Linked DNA regions of Homo sapiens: regions 1, 2, 3, 4 and 6 are each linked to region 5. Evidence: promoter capture Hi-C in 16 types of primary human blood cells and fetal thymus (Javierre and others, 2016). All regions are on one chromosome and are shown on one strand. The core of a region is centred on a gene start or on the middle of the fragment in contact, and the rest is flanking DNA. Distances in the headings are between cores, read along the strand shown. Region 1 has its middle 30 kb from the start of TIPARP. Region 2 has its middle 46 kb from the start of TIPARP. Region 3 overlaps KCNAB1 (potassium voltage-gated channel subfamily A regulatory beta subunit 1). Region 4 has its middle 27 kb from the start of SSR3. Region 5 holds the start of CCNL1 (cyclin L1). Region 6 overlaps KCNAB1 (potassium voltage-gated channel subfamily A regulatory beta subunit 1).

The links. The method cuts DNA at HindIII sites, captures the fragments that hold promoters and counts their contacts. A CHiCAGO score of 5 or more calls a contact.
Region 1: a contact is called between a fragment that was not itself captured here and the fragment with the promoter of CCNL1 in region 5, in 2 of 17 cell types (M2 macrophages and fetal thymus). The highest score is 8.3, in M2 macrophages.
Region 2: a fragment that was not itself captured here is called in contact with the fragment with the promoter of CCNL1 in region 5 in 1 of 17 cell types (M2 macrophages); the score reaches 5.4 in M2 macrophages.
Region 3: a fragment that was not itself captured here is called in contact with the fragment with the promoter of CCNL1 in region 5 in 7 of 17 cell types (total CD8 T cells, naive CD4 T cells, total CD4 T cells and 4 more); the score reaches 13.2 in total CD8 T cells.
Region 4: a contact is called between a fragment that was not itself captured here and the fragment with the promoter of CCNL1 in region 5, in 3 of 17 cell types (M2 macrophages, M0 macrophages and M1 macrophages). The highest score is 10.0, in M2 macrophages.
Region 6: a fragment that was not itself captured here is called in contact with the fragment with the promoter of CCNL1 in region 5 in 2 of 17 cell types (total CD8 T cells and non-activated CD4 T cells); the score reaches 7.8 in total CD8 T cells.

What each region holds. Positions count from the first base shown.
Region 1 is chr3:156,643,172-156,645,911 of GRCh38, forward strand. No RefSeq gene overlaps it. Among named protein-coding and RNA genes, the nearest start is that of TIPARP, 30 kb to the right of the region's middle. The HindIII fragment of the contact is 2,400 bases long and covers 95-2,494 here.
Region 2 is chr3:156,626,826-156,629,649 of GRCh38, forward strand. No RefSeq gene overlaps it. Among named protein-coding and RNA genes, the nearest start is that of TIPARP, 46 kb to the right of the region's middle. The HindIII fragment of the contact is 3,731 bases long and covers 1-2,824 here.
Region 3 is chr3:156,522,658-156,525,665 of GRCh38, forward strand. KCNAB1 (potassium voltage-gated channel subfamily A regulatory beta subunit 1) reads left to right here. Exons shown (of 14, transcript NM_172160.3): 12 at 1,170-1,290. Among named protein-coding and RNA genes, the nearest start is that of SSR3, 31 kb to the right of the region's middle. The HindIII fragment of the contact is 2,013 bases long and covers 749-2,761 here.
Region 4 is chr3:156,580,292-156,583,239 of GRCh38, forward strand. No RefSeq gene overlaps it. Among named protein-coding and RNA genes, the nearest start is that of SSR3, 27 kb to the left of the region's middle. The HindIII fragment of the contact is 1,610 bases long and covers 716-2,325 here.
Region 5 is chr3:157,158,774-157,161,589 of GRCh38, forward strand. CCNL1 (cyclin L1) reads right to left here and starts at 1,374. Exons shown (of 11, transcript NM_020307.4): 1 at 1,019-1,374; 2 at 632-706; 3 at 93-202. The coding sequence starts at 1,321. RefSeq lists enhancers at 586-655, 1,289-2,018, 2,106-2,155, 2,176-2,235 and a silencer at 796-1,005. The HindIII fragment of the contact is 11,903 bases long and covers 1-2,816 here.
Region 6 is chr3:156,505,821-156,508,618 of GRCh38, forward strand. All of the region lies in intron 8 of KCNAB1 (potassium voltage-gated channel subfamily A regulatory beta subunit 1), which reads left to right. Among named protein-coding and RNA genes, the nearest start is that of SSR3, 48 kb to the right of the region's middle. The HindIII fragment of the contact is 803 bases long and covers 983-1,785 here.

The DNA of each region.
Region 1 (2,740 bases), core at 45-2,544, 520 kb before region 5:
CAATGAAAAAGAGTAGCAAAGAAGGCTGTTGCAAATGTGTGGTGAGGCATTTCAAACTCACAGGCTTCCTCTGCCCTAGTGGCTGCTGGTTCTAAGCTTCTGGCAGGCAGTCCTTTCGGGAGAATGGACAGAGGGCCAGGGACAGTCTTTGGCAGACCACAGGGCTTCTGAAGTCCCTAGGAGGGAAAGTGTCAGCCCTCCAACCACTCCCTGGACTTAGCAGTTGTCACAGGAATGGCTCTTATTTGAAGCTGGGAGGCTTAGTGGTTATGGCCAGAGCAAGGAAGGTGAGCGCATACCGTGAGGAGCATCCCTCCTGCCAACCTAGAGCTTCAGGGAGTCATGGTACAATCCTACTGTCCTTCCTGACGAGAGCTAGCACAGCGAGGCTGAGTGTGGGGAGGGAGCACATCTGGAAATATCTCCAATTTATTCAGGGCAGGGGTCCCTCTCACCTCCCTGCACCTTCTTCTCAGTACTGCCTCTGCCTGGAAGCCGGCTGGAGGCATCTCCTTTACCTAGTATTTCACTCTTTCTCCAGAAGCTCAGCAAGTAGAGCTGACAGTACCCCAGGGGACTCCTACAATTTCCTCAGTCTCCAGGGAGATGCCTCCTGAATGAAACGATCTAAGAAAAGAAACATACACAAATACACACTCCTTCCTGTTCTCTCTCAAGCACCAGAATATTTTCTGCACTGGGCTCCCACACTCAACAGCCTCATTATTCTCTCTGAGATTTTCCTCTCCTTCCTCATTCCCCTGCCTCTGCTACCACTCCCACCTTCCACGCAAACACATGCGTGCCTGCACTTACACACACACTCATGCGGTTTCCGCACAGCTATCTCTGAGGGTAGGGGCAGCCACTAAACAGAGAGGAGGAACTAGATCATCTATCTTGAAAATTTGCCTCAAGCTCAGTAGGTGAACACTAAGAAAGCTGTTCTCGGAGGTACTGGAGGGCACATAACTCTTTTCCCATTCCCCTGTTGAGTGTGGGAGCCCAGAGCAGAAAATAGTTTCCTCCCCTCAACCCATCCCCCTCCATCAGTGAGCCTATAACTCATTTCAAGCCTGCTGTTGAAACCTAACTTTCCTCAGCCAGAACAGCCACAAGAAGTTATGGTTTATTTTCCCCCTCCTCCCTTGCTCTGCTCTGCCATCCCCCCAGTATAGAAGACTATGTCTGGCTTTTCTATTTTTGCTGTTGATGAGATAGATACAGTGCTAAGGGTAAGACAGTGTGTTCAAAATAGTGAGGATACATAGGATGAATTTGTTTTAAACAATATTTTAGTTATATTTCCAAATAATATGCTGAATATTTTTTTCTTCAACCTCCAGACCGCCTTTCAGGTGAAGCATCTCTAAAAATAATGCAATGGGTCCAATTGTTGATCTGAAAAAAGTACAATAAAAACACTACAAGAGCATCCAGAAGTCTGGAAACACAGGTGAAATTGTGCACTTCTTGTTTCAGATTTACAGCTAAATCCACTGCCTTAAATGTAGAGATTCATCACCTGAAACATGGTTGAAAACAAAAATATATTGAGTATTTTTTAAATGTGAATACCATAATTTTAAAATGCCATTTTCTCCTATGCTTTGTCCTGTAATTTAAAAAATTTAACAAGTGGACACTATGATTGGTGTACATTCCTGCCTACAATCTTCCAAGTTAATTGGATTAATGTAAGAGCTACTTATCTACACATAAACCATCCTATGAAAAAGGCTGACCATTTCAAATTAGGAGTGAGCTTCTAATATTTATCAGAAAATACCAAAACTGAGCTTGATTTGGAGCTTTGCATTATAGTGAAATCCTGAAGCCTCCAATAAGAGTAGGAAAGGGTCACAGTATCCTATTTCTCTTTTACTCTGAAAATAAAATTCTAATTACATAAATATTCTGTCTGTATTACACAATAAATCTAAATAACTGAAAGAAAACTTTTGCCTACAATCTTGTCACCTCAGCAAATCCAACTTTTTGTTTGGCCCTGATCTTTTCTAGCCATTGTGGATAATCACAGTGGGTGCCTTCTGCCATTTTCAATTAATACAATTTCAGAAGCATGTTCCATGTTGCTGTGTAGTCCTTGTAATCTACATTTTAATAGCTACATCATCTTTTACATTATTTTCCTGTTGTCCAACATACATTTCATAATCTTTTCTATAAGAAATAATGCAGCGAATCTTTGTCTATTTGGCTTTTTTTCCCTTACGAATTACTTGTTCAGAATCTATTCTAAGAGGTAGGATCAAAGGTCAAAACCCTGGATATGAGGAGGTTTTTATTTCTTCTAGTGACTAAGGAACTCTGAAGGTTCCACCCACAGCCTCCCACCTTTTACATTTGAGATAGACATTTCTCCATCAGAAATGTATCCAGCCACTGCAGCAGCCCCACTGGAATGCTGGGACAAGCTCATGGTTCATTTTCGGGAAAGTAGAGGCTTAAACAGTATGATTTAACCCATACAAGCTTGTTATATGTTACACATAGTTCCTACAAGAAGTATCAACAACACTTTAAGATTATAATAATTTCACTGAAAAAACAACTCATAATCAAGTGGTGACATTGAAAGAGTTGTGTGCCCCTTTAATAAACACAAAATAGTCCTCATTTTTGTTTTAATTTGCATTTCTTTTACCACTAGTGAGGATGAAATCCTTTCCATGTATTTGTTTACTGGTTAGTTCCTCTTGGAAGAGGCATCTCTTTC
Region 2 (2,824 bases), core at 45-2,544, 530 kb before region 5:
TTTCAAACTTGGTTAGGTATCAGAATCACCTACTTGAATATGCTTCATTCACTTTGTAGATATTTCTGATATATACCAAATTTTGAGAACCATTGAGTCTGTTAGAATAAGGTTCAGCTATAATGAACAGAAATAGTGCTATAAACTAGTTTCTTTTTCTCCCCCATTAAGAAGCCCAGAATAGTCATTCTAGAGCTGGTATCGAGCTTGGTGTGGGGAACAAGACTCCTTTTACTTTCTTTGTTTTGTGTGGCTTCCATTCTTCTAAAGTCATCTCAGTGACCAATTGCCTGTTGGAGCTTCATCTACATCTGCATTCTAGCTAGCAAGAAGGTGGAAGGGTGGAAGAATACATACCTTCTCTTTAATGATTGTCAGGAATATGCACCACTTCCACTTAATCCCATGGGTCAGAATTGAAACATACAGCCATGCCCTCCTGCAAGGAAGGCTGGGAAAAGTGGTCTTTATTCTGTGTGGCTACGTAGGCAGCTAAAAATTAGACATTCTCTTATGATGGAGGAATTAGGAGGAATAAACCTTCAAGAATAATTAATCTCTGTCACACTCAGCAGGGAGGAAAATTTACCTAATCCTTATATCTACATTTGACCATGAGACCTAAGAGAAATTCTTTCTATAAGAGGTTTTTAGATCTCATAATGAAGGTGGCTAAGGCAGTGGCTCTCAAACTCTGCTGCACATTAGAATCAACTGGGATCTTACAAACTAATGATGCCTGACTTCCACACCCAATCATTCTGACTTAGTTGGTATGAAATAGAACCTAGACATTAGGGTATTTAAAAGCCCCCCATAATGATTCTGATTTGCAGGAAAAGTTTGGACTAAAGGGGGGGAAACACTCCTAAATCTTTTCCTTAACTCTATCACAGGATCTTCAACCTAAGATACAAGTAGTGTGGATAAGATCCACTGAGTGTTGTTTTGCTCCATTGATGGGCTCCTATTTTTTCCTGTGCCATTGACATCTCAGCAGTTGAACTAGTGAATGTTACTGGTAATAAAGTTACATGTGACCAGGGAAGATTCATTATCGGTATCGCAAAAGACAAAGACAACTCAGACGATATGTCCTACTCACAAAAGCCAGTGACATTTTCATGTACAAAGAACACATTTTAGTTGTAGCTATATTTATACACATGTTATTTGTATGTGGCATGAAAATAGCTATTTTGGTTTTCTGTGTGTGCACGCATGTAGCAGGACCCAGACACAGTAGTGAATCATCCTTAAGTACAGCATTTACATTTTAAACACAGGAACCTATTCAAATCAAATGTGGAAGGCCCTCTCTATTTGGCAGTATATTTGTCATCCGGAAGCTCAAAATAGCCTTTTAGAGATCTAAGCAGTTTGAGCTAGTGGCATCTCAACCTATTACTAGCTGTCAGATATTTTATCCATTCAAGCAGATAGGTGGGCAAAGGTTATGTTTTCTTTGAATTGCTAATGCAGAGGTCTGCCTTTTAAGTTGAGATGTGAAATGAGAAGAGGAGTAAAAGAGGAAATTCTCAAAGACGAAAGCTAGATAGGTCATTTCATTCACCTCTTCACCTTCAGAAAGAATGACATTAAAACATTCTAAACAGGTGAGAATCTATACTATTTTTATAGCTCTTCAATGACAGGATTGCACAACCACATTCCTACCATACCACATTTCATTGCAACAATTTGCAGCTAGGAAATTTCTTTTTACATCTAACCCAAGGATTCTGACCAGGTTGATCCCATTTCCTCCTCGCTGTTCTTCAGAGGGACAACACCATTCTTTTATAAAATTATCTTGGTACTTACATAATTACATTAATCTTCAGGTTTCTCTTTTACAATCCAAATACTAATAACATCCCTTCACACCTTCCTTTTAAATAGTTTTCAAATATAATCAGCTTTGCAGCAATCTTCTTTTAACCTAGGGGTTCCCAGACTTGTTTGCACATTAGAATCATCTGAGGAGCTTCAAAAACTACTGATGCCTGTGTCCCACCCCCAGAGATTCTGATTTAAGTGTCTGGAGTATGTACTAAAGTGGAGATTTTTTAAAAAGATTCTCAAGTGCTTCAAAAGTGCATCAAGTTCAGAAACCACTATCTGAACCTGCTGCAGCCTATTACCCACTTCTCCTTCTGTTTGCTAATAGAACCTTGATAATAGTCCCAGATAAGAAATCATGACTGGCCTAAAACTGTGGTTTCCAGTTCTGCTACCATTAGAATCACCTGGAGAGCTTTGACTATACGGAAGCCTGGACTCCACCAACAAATTAAATCAGAACATCTGGGGGTGGGACCAGGAAACGGTATCTTTAAAAATGCTCTCCAAATGTTTTTAATGCACCACCAGGGTTGAGAGCCATTGGTGGAGGTCAGTGACTCTCAAAGTGTTTTTTAAAGTCCGGAAGCATCCGCATCAACTGAGATATTTAAATAATACAAATTCTTAGGTCCAAACCCAGGCCTACTGAATCAGCATCTCTGGGGGGTGGAGCCCAGCAATCAGTGTTTTAACAAGCCCTCCAGGGGATTTCAATGCTTGCTAGAGTTTGAGTAGCACTAGTCTAAGTCCATTATGATAAGCCTGTTCCCTGATTTCCCAGCCTTCCTTCAACAACAGGTGGCTGTGTGACCCAGTTCAAGCCAATGCCACCCAGCAGAGTTCTACTGAGAAAACGTGGTTTCTGGGAAAATTTTTGCTTTCTTGGTACAAGGGAACACACATCATGCACTTCTGCTTCTTCTTTCCTTACAGTCTTGGGGGTAGGTAGTCCCTGAAGCCTCAGCTGCCATTTTGGGAT
Region 3 (3,008 bases), core at 505-3,004, 640 kb before region 5:
AACATAATGTGGTTACCCTTTTCTTTGGAAATATTGTCTTAGAATAATGAAAAAATGCTCAAAAAACAAAAGCCAGCAGCCTATTGAAATCATGTGGGTGCAGTGTCCATGGCCCACTGCCTGTTGCAGAGCATTCTGCGGTCTCTGGGAAGATAAAGATCTGCGATGGCTATTATGTATTATGTCACAATTACACGCAAGAGAGAAAGTCCACATTACCACACAGTGTGATGATTTTTAATTGTTTTCCCTAAAACAGACTAACACTCTTACAAATACTCTTTTCCCCTGGGTGTTGCTGCTTAAGTGCTCGCTTTATGTAGAAGAGTCTATTGTTCCCTTTCTCATAGTAAGAGCAGAGCCTTCTGGAAACTAAGGCATTGAGAAGTTCTAAAAGATTTTTATCTTTATATTTAGGAAATTAGGTTCATTTTGTAGTCTATAGATCAGGGTCAGTTTCTTCTCATTGGCTTTAAAGAATAGTTTCCTGTTTTGAGTTTCTTTACTTTTTTAAGTTTCAATAGTTATACAATAGGTAATAACATTTGCAAAGTCTTTATCTACTTTAAAATTTTAAAAACCAACTCAGTACCTATCAGTTATGCCATGTCTGCTTCTAGGAAGAAGCTGCAGAAGCTAACAACAAAGCCCCATTATAAAAAGAATAAGAGATTAGCAGTGAATTGAAAGCACGGGGGAGAAAAATAGTTAAACAAAAATGTAAAATAGTGGTTTTCTTTGAGCAGAAAGCTTGGCACCCAGCTTTCTTAATAAAAAGGAGACATAATAGATCTTGGTAAGTTGTAAATGTACTTTTTTTTTTGCTACATTCTAAAGTTGGGCTATCCCAATAAAAAACGTTACTTCTTCTATTGGACAGGCTAGGATTTAAGTGCTTGTATGTCACGGTCAGGGTTATAACAACTTCTGTGCAGGCTGATCAATTTGAATGGTGAATATTAGTCAAAATCAATCTGTTTTGAACCAATAAACAAGGAGCAAGATCGTGAGGAACATTTCTTTGCATGAAATCATCCCTGTCAGTGTGAAACATAAGGGTCAAAAAATTCAGAAAATCATTATGAGGTTCACATATTTTATTGAATTACCATTCTTTGACATCAGATCTTTACCAGACATTAACATTTCAATGTTATGCTTTTCCCCAGTGCTACCAGTGGTTGAAAGAAAGAATTGTAAGTGAAGAAGGGAGAAAACAGCAAAACAAGCTAAAAGACCTTTCCCCAATTGCGGAGCGTCTGGGATGCACACTACCTCAGCTAGCTGTTGGTAAGAAAATTACTAAGCTATGGGGTGGTAGAGGGACTTCTGCTGAGATCATAGTTTTCTATTGCTGACCACACCCTTACCATGATAAAATGTCTATTGCAGGGACAGATGATCTCTGAAGCATAAACTCCTGCTAAATATAAAGTGAGTTATTTGAGGTTCCCCAGAATTTTCTACATGATAGCAAATTTTTCTTACTTCTTTCTCCTTGCTCTTATAACATAGTTTAAATGAGAACATGTCAGTGATAACATACACTATCACAGATGTCAGGGGTGAACTGTGTAGTGACATCCATTTCTTCTGGCTCAAATTTCTGTCTGTTGAAAACTAAACCAGGGTTGGTGAGAAGATGAGATACAGGGCTGTGACAGGCCCAAGGCTACTGCCACATGAAAAGCTGATCCTAGAGAAATAGCTTCACCCTGAAAGTTCTTGAAGGCCATAAACGTTGTTCTTCTAATGCTGTGGAGTCCATGAAAGGTCATGATTGCTGGTAACAATTGAAAACCACACGCGGCTGGGCACGGTGGCTCATGCCTGTAATCCCAGCACTTTGGGAGGCCAAGGTGGGCGGATCATGAGGTCAGGAGATCGAGACCATCCTGGCTAACACAGTGAAACCCCGTCTCTACTAAAAACACCAAAAATTAGCCGGGCGTGGTGGTGGGTGCCTGTAGTCCCAGCTACTTGGGAGGCTGAGGCAGGAGAATGGCGTGAACCCGAGTGGCGGAGCTTGCAGTAAGCCCAGATTGCGTCACTGCACTCCAGCCTGCGTGACAGAGCAAGACTCCATCTCAAAAAAAAAAAAAAAAAAAAAAAAAAAAAAGAAAACCCCAAACCACATCCACTGTTTGAGAGAAAGATAATATGAACCACATTCAATCATGGGTGTCTCAGTCAACGACGGACAACATATATGTAGGTGATCCCATAAGATTATAATGGAGCTGAAAAATTGCTATTGCCTAGTGATGTTGTGGTTATCCTAAGGTCCGAGTGCAATGAATTACTTGTGTGTTTGTGGTGATGCTGGTATAATAAACAAGCCTACTGCACTGCCAGTAATATAAAAGTCTAGCACACACAATCATGTACAGTACATAATACTTGATAATGATAATAAATGACCATGTTACTGGTTTATGTATTTACTATACTATACTTTTCATCTTTACTTTAGAGTGTTACTCCTTCTTACTAGGAAAAAAAAAAAGTTAACTGTAAAACAGCCTTATGCAGGCCCTTCAGGAGGTATTCCCCAAAGAGGAATTATTATCACAGGAGATGACAGCTCCATGTGTTTTACTGCCCCTGAAGACTTCCCAGAGGAACAAGATGTGGAGGTGGAACATAGTGATGGTCCTGACCCTGTGTAGGCCAAGGCTAATGAGTGTGTCTGTGTCTTAGTTTTTAACAAAAAAAAAAAAGTTTAAAAAGCTAAAAAAACACTTTTTAAAAATAGAAAAAAAGCTTATAACAATATAAAGAAAATACTTTTGTACAGCTGTACAATGTGTTTGTGTTTTAAGCTATGTTATTACAAATAAGTTCAAAGGTTTTTTTGTTTGTTTGTTTTTTGTTTTGAGACGCAGTCTCGCTCTGTCGCCCAGGCTGGAGTGCAGTGGCGCGATCTCGGCTCACTGCAACCTCCGTCTCCCAGGTTCAAGCGATTCTCCTGCCTCAGCCTCCTGAGTAGCTGGGATTACAGGTGTGCA
Region 4 (2,948 bases), core at 271-2,770, 580 kb before region 5:
TAACTGAATGTTTGCAAAGTATCCAGCACAGACCTGGCCTGGGGTAGATGTTTAGAAATTATGTTTTTGCTGATTTCAATTCATATGCATGAGCATTTTACATAATAAGCTGTTTTTCATATTGATGCAAAAGTTATTCTAAGTTTATTGAGAATGTTTTAATTAAAAGACTAAAACACTTATAGAAATTTATAATGTTTGTGTGGTCAAGTGCACTATTTTTTTCTTTTTTACATTTCTTCCAACACTTTCAAGTTCAGAAACTACCCCCGATCCCTTTTTACTTCCTCTCACTTACAACTACTACAAAGGCATATATTTTTTCATCTTGGTATTTTAAATTTGATTTGTTATGTTCTTTTTACTCCATATTGGATTTGGTACGATGTTAACTATAAAATGAGGATCTATTCTGATTTATTTCCTAAACATGTATTCAATTGTTTCAGTATCATTTACTAAATAATGATTTAACTCGTAGATTTTGATGCCTACTTTATGACAGATTATATTCTCACAACATCTCTCCTCATGAAAACCAGAGGAGTAGGGAAAAAGCACCCCACCCACACCCTTCTACACACACTGCAACCAAATCTATCAATTTAATAATTGACAGTTGTATAAAATTTAGTCTTTTCACCTGGTCAACTATTCTTCATTTTCTCAAATCTTCCTTTAGCGCATTCAGTAGATTTTCTGTAGTTTTGAACCAAGCTTGGGTATTACCTGGACTGTGAACAACCTAACCGGGAGAAACATCCAACATCCTGCAGAAACCCCATGACCAGCCACTGCGTGCCACTTCGCCACTTTGACAGTAGCACCAGAATTTAAGAACTCCTTCAAACTACAGAAAATCAACTGAATGAACGAAAAGAAGTCCTCACAATGCTGAGTCAGATTATTATAGTTATAGTAATTCTTTCCAACACTTGTAATTTGTAGCTCTTAGAACAGCATGCTGGAGTTTCCATGTGGCTGCCCCATGATTTTGTCCATGACAACTTCCTTATTTTTTTTTTAGCAATAAATATAGTACAAATTTGCACACCTTTTTTCATGTTCAGTTACCCTATCATTAGTACACTATGCAGCAGAGACTGTATTTTTACAGCTATTTCTGTTCCCACCATTCTTCAACTCCAGCCGAACAGGATTATTTGTTAATCCTTAAACATGCTGTGTACTTTCTCCCCTCCATTCCTTTTTCTATGCCATTCGCTGAAGCTCACAAACACTATGCCACATCCTCTCTCCTCATCTTCTGTCCAAATCCAAACCAACAATGTTTGACATACAGGAAATAACCTAATAGTTAGATAAAGATATTTAAATTCAATAGAATATTATACAATAACCAAAAATGAACAAGAGGGAAAAGAGGAGGAGAAATGTTTACTAAAATATGCATAAACAAATTCTATGAGTAACTTGATTATAAATAGGTATGTTGGTCAGGCTTTGATCAGCATGACATAAGGGCTACAGGAACTAGGGTAGCCATGTCAGGGCCTAGATTCTGAGACTTGTCCTTGCTAAAACTAACTCTCTGTCTCTCATATCTCCTCTTCCATTTCTCATTGTTACTTTTTTCTACTTTACATAAGTCTCTTCCATCACAGACAGACTTTCTCCTTAGAGATTAAGGGAGGATTATGGCAGATAATGGCTACCAGAATTCACAAATCTGTGAGCCAGTCCTAAATTTTAAAAATCCCCCAGGGAGACTCTGACAGGTCAGAATTGACACACAGCCCCACCTTAGACCAATCACCATACTCATAGGAATGGCTACCAGGAGTGGTCAGACCTAGAACAAGAGCCCTTTCCTGTCATCAGAGATGAGGGTACCATGATTGACAGGCTCATCAGAATCACCTGTTGGAGTGGAGAAGCAGTAGTTTCCCAAAGGAAATGTGTGTGTATTGGAGTGGAAAGAGGGGAGCAGAAGATTAGAGCAGAAGCAGCCAAGGTGCTGAGCAGACAAGAAAAACAACAGTTGCATTCTACAAATTGGCATGCATGGCCATCTGTGAATTACCCCTGCCACTGCTACAGCCTCCTTTTTCATCACTCTGTACCTCTCATCCTGTGTTAGGGATATTCTGAACTAATTAGAGTTCTGTAACTTCTGGGCTCCACCTTTGCACATGTTGTTCCTTCTTTCTCTAAGCCTTCCTAGTCTTTCTGCCTCTACCTCGCTAATTCCAACTCATACTTCAGCTCATATTGCAGCTATCACCTGCTCTAAGAAGCCTATGAGGATTCTATACTTGCCCCCACTCAGAGTTTTAGAATCCCACACGTGCTTATAGTGCTTGAAGCTTACCTCTAGCACAGCTCATACCATGTCATATTGTGATACACTCCAGCTAGTTTAAGCAGAACAGGACTATTACAAGATCCAAGTTAGCTTACAGAATTTCTGGGAAGCTGGGGAGCCAAGCTTGGGTATTACTCGGACTGTGAGCAGTCAGGAGAAACATCCACAATGATGCAGAAACCCCATGGCCAGCCACTGCCTGCCACTTAGCCACTTCAATACTCCACCAGAATTTGAGAACTCCTGCAATCACTGTCCCTAGAGAACTGAGCACCTCTACTGCCCTTCCGGCCACCAGAAGAACCTGTGGCCACCAGCTCATAGTAGTTGCTTTCATCTTCCAAATCTCTGCTTGGCAGAAGCTCGGTCATGTGAAGAATCTAGATGCAAGGGAAACTGAGAAATGTAGTCTTTTTCATGACAAACAGAAGGTTGAGTCATTTTGAATGAGCCAATTTCCCAGTCTTCCACCAAACCTCCACAACAACAAATTTGTTGTTAAGGGCAAACCAATTTATGGTTGTCCTACTGTCTTGGTAAGTAGTTTCATTGTCTGTATAAGATCTTGTTTCCTAGAAATACTTTTAATTTAATATCCATTTTTATCTAGTACTAGTATTGC
Region 5 (2,816 bases), core at 124-2,623:
TATTCACTTGAAAGGAAAGATGTTTTGATTTGATGACTGGTGCACGGTACAGCAGTAGCAAGAGATACTATGTTCAATAATGCCAATCTTACCTTTTTCCTCTTAACTGGCGGAGGTGGTGGAATACATTAATCACATCTCTTATTCTTCTAGGTGCTTCTTCGATTTTTGATGCAAGATTAATACAAGCCATAGCAACAATCTGAAAGAACCCATGAGCCACAAAAGCCATTGTTAGATTAAACTCACTTTGAAGAATAAAATTTAGAACACAATTGGGACAACCTTTAGTAAAATTAGAGAAGACATCTCTATGCCGTAAGTCTACCAGCTATGCTAGTACTATACTTTTTGTTGTTTAACTCATCTTAATTTTGGTTCCAGAGTCAAACTCAATCTTACAGGAGTTCTGCATTTGGTTGAAAACTGTACTTTTCGTTAAGAGGGCACTTAGGCTCGTGATCGATTTTGAACCACATTCTAAAGGTTTCCACTTCCTGGCGAGTGAGAAGTAGGTACAAAGGCCTAAACTAAACCACTCCCTTTCTGGAAAAGCTGGCTGCTGACACTACCCCTACTCTGCCCATTTCCGGATGAAGAAATCCCTTTTACCCGCCTCCGCTGTGCTTACCTCGAAACTGTGTTTGACGAAAGATTTGGAGTAGAAAAAACGATGAAACAACACCTGCCCCGTTGCCATCGCCACCTGCAGACAAGAGAGGAGAACGGAAGCGCAGGGGTCAGGCGGGCCCGCTCCAGGCGCCGCCGCCATTTTGTGCCGCCGATCGCTTCCCTTTCCCCTCCCGCCGCCGCCGCCGCTGCGAACAGCCCGCTGCCAAGTCCTCCCTCCGCCTCCGCAGCCCCCCGCCCCGGCACGCCCCGGCCGCGGCTGGGCCCCGAACGGGAAAGCCTGAAGGAACCGTCCCCACCCTCCCGGGGCACGGTGATACTGAGATGCGGCGTAGGGGACGGAGGAGAGGAGAGGAGCGCCCGGCCGGCCCGGGGCCGGAGCACTGACCTGCGGCAGCCGGAGGAGAATGCCGGCGGCCTGGATGAGCTCGCAGCCCAGGATGCGTAAGTCCGTCTCACTGGGCAGGTCGAGCCCATCCTGCATGGATGGGGTGGGCGAGAGCCTCTCCTCCGGAATCAGAGAGTGGTCGATGGTAAGTGAAACTTCCGAGTACAGGCGATCGCCGATCAGGATCCCTCCCGTCGTGGTCGTCGTCGTGGTCGTCGTCCCGGAGCTGGAGCCGCCCGCGCTTGGGGCGGCCGATGAGGCGGCTGCGGCAGCAGTAGCTGTCGAATGAGGCCCGGACGCCATAGTCTTAGCGAGCCGCACGCAAGCCCAACGCAGCCGGAACCCGAAACAAGACTAACCAGCGTTCTCGGCGCGACGGATATTCCCGTGACCGCCGGGTTCTGGGCCGCTTCACGCCGCGTGCGCTTCCGCCCTGACGTCACCACGCCGGGCAGCCGCGCGCCAACTAGTCCCTCCAGGCCGCGCCTCCGCCCTCGGCATCTGGGCCTGCGAGGGGAGTGTTGGGTGCTGCGACAGACCTTGGGATCCTCAGAGGCTGAGGAGGCCTTCTCTAGCCAAGGCCGGTCGAAACCACCTTGTTTGTGATAGCCACACGAATAACGGAGCTTTACAAGATCCCTTATACCCAAAATAGAGGTGGCAGCATTGGCTAGCATCTCTGCGCCCCTTCGCCCTGCATTCCGGCCTCTTCCTTTAGCCTCGGCGCGGCTTGCGTTCCGCGTGTACCAAGGGAAGTGGCGGCCGACCTGAGCGCGCTTTGGCGGGTGGAAGTGGTGACTTTGTTGTCCTGTGTGGACGAATGTGTAATATAAAGTGACCCTCAAGGAATCTGGAGAGGGCTGCTTTACAGTATTTGAAGAACACAGGGCTGTGGACCCTATCGGTTCCCAAATGAAAGCTCCCCGGGGAGCGTGTTTTTGCCAGTATGGGGAAGTAGGGCGGAGGCATAGGAATGACCGCGAGAGTGGCTGCTTTCATAGCTCCGCTTGCGAAACTCCTGCCCGGCCTTTGACACCGCCACGGCTTTCAGTAATCTGGAAAATCCCTAGTTTCCAAAAATAGTCTTAGGGCGAGGACTTGACAGAGGTAATTTGATTATGCCTGGGAGTCTCTATTCATACATGGTTACCTACCGCGGGTAGGGTGAGGTCAACCTCGTGTTTTTTGTTTTTTTTCCTGTGATATTAGCTAGCAATTTCCAGCGTTTCCTGAACCTTGAAGTAAAAACAATGATACTGATCTAAACTACTAGAATCTAGGTTGGAAGGAAAGGAATGCATCACGTTTTACTCTTGACGCTCAGAAAGCGATACCCCAAAGACAGAGGCTTTAGAAGCTGCCTCATAATGCAGGTCCCCCAACCTTGACTTGTTGCTCCCACTTTTCCCAAGTGCAGGGAGGTACTCTCTGAAATTTCCTTTCCTGACTAGAGAAGCCTCTTTGTAGAAGAATCAATCGCATTCCTCCCCTCGCTGAAATCTCGTATCCTATTTCAAAAAGACTCAGAAATGCAGCCATTCCTGGAGGGACTTTTTCACAAGATTACTCAAAAGAAAATTATTTACTAATTTCTGTCCATTCATTGTTCCTAATAATCATTTGCTGCTCCTCAAAATAAATGTCTACATTTCTCATCTACCCTTTCCCCTATGAAAAAAAGATATAAAATCTTCTGTACTCCATTAAGCTACTGGGTAATCATCCTCCTGCTTTTACCCCGGTGTTATGTATCCCTTTTCTCCTGTTAATCGCCTGTTATCAGTTGATTTTTTTTTTC
Region 6 (2,798 bases), core at 134-2,633, 650 kb before region 5:
TGTATTACAAGGCTAGAGGGAGTAAGAGAGAGAGAAAAGGGAGATCCCAGACTCTTTTAAACAACCAGCTCTCATGTGAACTGAGTGAGTGAGAACTCTTATCACCAAGGAGATGATGCCAAACCATTCATGAGGGATCCACTTGATGATCCAATCACTTCCCACCTGGACCCACCTCCAACATTGTGAATCACATTTCTACATGAGATTTGGAGAGGACAAACATCCAAACCATATCACTTGGTATTTAATTTTTTGTGGCTATTGTAAATGATATTGCTTTCATGATTTATTTTTCAGCTAGTTTGTTGTTATCGTATAGAAATGGTACTGATTCTCGTATGTTGATTTTGTGTCCTGCAACCTTAATGAATTTATTGATCAGTTCTAAAAGGGCTTCTCTTTTTAACTCATTTATTTTTTCAAGGTGAAGGCTGGGCTAAAGATGACCAAACATTTTTCACCATGGTCTCCTGCATAGGTGGTCTAGTGCTTCACTTTGGAACTCAGGGGTACTTAAAAACAACAGTTGCTGTTCAGAGCCTTTGGACTTGAGCTAAAAGTGAGACTAAAAGTGTCCCATTTCAATAACCTATTTCACATTTTAGAATAAGGTTCTGAAATCATATTTGGGCAATATCAAAGGCTCACTTCAAACTGTCTAGAGTCAGGGAAAACCAGTGTGTGGCAGAGAGGAGAGGTTGAGGACCATGTGCTCTTTAGGGAGGGTTCTCTCAGGGTAGCTACAGGGTGGAGGAAAATGCATTGCCTTCAGAGACATAAAGCTCCATTCTTGGGTCGGAGTTTTGAAGAAGGTTCAATTTCTCCAGATAGAAGAGGTTTTATTGACTTGGCTCAGTGCATGAATTCCTTTCTAGTCTCTTGAATCTGTTCTGTTCTGATTCAGAATCAGTTTGGCCAGTGCCCTGATCCAGAAAGCATATTCCCTATAAACTGCCCTGTGAAGACCACTCTTTCTTTAAGCTTTGACAGATCAGATGCAGACACCAGCCCTTTTTTTGCCTCTCTTTTCAAAGAGTCATCAGATTTTAGTTTTTCTTCGAAAAAAAACAAAAAGAAAGCTCATATTTCCCAAGTCATTTATACTCATCATGAACTATAGCCATCTGTGTATTAAATGCAAAGGGATGGATGGATATAACCACACAAGGCATCACATGTTCACAAACACACAATGAGGTGAATTAAGTAAATGCTCTGTTAGTTTTCTCTCCCCAAACCATCTTCTCCATCAATGCATTATGCAAAGAACCTCTCACGATGACAGATCACAGAACTTCAAAGCTAGATGGGGTCTATAGACTATCTGCTGAGACCTGGCCCAAGTGATTTTATCTTTCTGAGTCTCAGGTTCTTCCTCAACAAAATGGGATTCAAATATTCCCACCTAAACAGTTACTGTCAAGATTAAGTATATGCTTAATTAATATCAATCTGCTCATTTGCATTGAAGAAACTGAGATCTCAGCAAGGACAAGAGATGTCAAAGGTTAGTGACTGTGATGGGACCAAAAAAAAACAATGTCTCCTGCATCCTAATACATGCTCTGTAAGGCAAATGGAACCAGGCTGTCCTCAGACATTCAGCAAACCTTTAAGATATGTGACTCATGATCCATACTAAGGATGACATCATTTCATTTATGATTATAAGTTTCCAGTCCTCTGAAGAATGATAGTCCTCTATCTCCAGGCATCAAGCTGAGAGGATTCTCTGCAGCTCAGAATATGAAGGACTGATCAAGATTCAAGATGATTCCTCTAAGCTTCAAAGCAGTACAGTTATAAACCACCACCACCACAAGCTTCTGAAGTTAAATAAATAAACAACTTAAGGTAGATAAATCACAAACAGCTGACCTGAAGTAAAAATTGTGCCTAGGTCTAGGCCTATTTTTTATTAGTGTTAACAGCAACTCCTCTGATGAAACCAAATTCTTGCATTATACCAGTGTTGTAGCCTCCATCTTGATCCTTGCCTCTTAAAAAAAAAAATCTGATATCAGCTGGGTTGAACCATAGGATACTGTCAATATTAAACTATTATGGGGCTCTAAAAATAGCAATTTTATTTGGTTAAATATATAATATGTTAGTGTCTAAAGTGGTGCCTTTGCTTGTTAGATAATCATTCTTCTTTTTTACATAAAAGTATAACATATTTACTGGAAATGTGAAAAATTAAGAACAAAATTGCATGTAATTCCACTAAATAATACAATTATTTTGCATGTTTTTTCTCAGTATTTTGCAAGCATATTTAAAATATTTATAATTGTTAATAATATTCAAGCTTTTAATTATGCCTAAAAACTTCACTCCTAACCTGTTTCCTCATCTAGAATAAGAAGGAACTGCACTGGATTACCTCTAAGGCTTCTTTTGCTTTTATCTTTTTTATCTTTTGCTTTTATCTCTGTGGCCAGATTAATTTGAGTACATTTTATCTGATCAAAACATTAATTTCTAATAAGCATATTTTTATCTTTACCCCTATGGCTTATTGTTCATGCAGTACAACTATTTGCTTACAACTTTCAAAGTTCTAGGGAACATTTTGCAGGAAAAAAAGTTTAATGTGAGCTACCACTTTTGGCATGTGATCCAATTTAGAAAATTAAAATATTGATCAACCAAAATTGTTTTCACTCAGAACAAATAGTTGTATTAATTTCTTTGACATAAAATGCATATTTTTTAAAACATTGATGGCCTACATTACTGAAACAACTGTCCCCAAAATGTTAGAATCTGGGCCTATTTGAGAAGAAACCTGG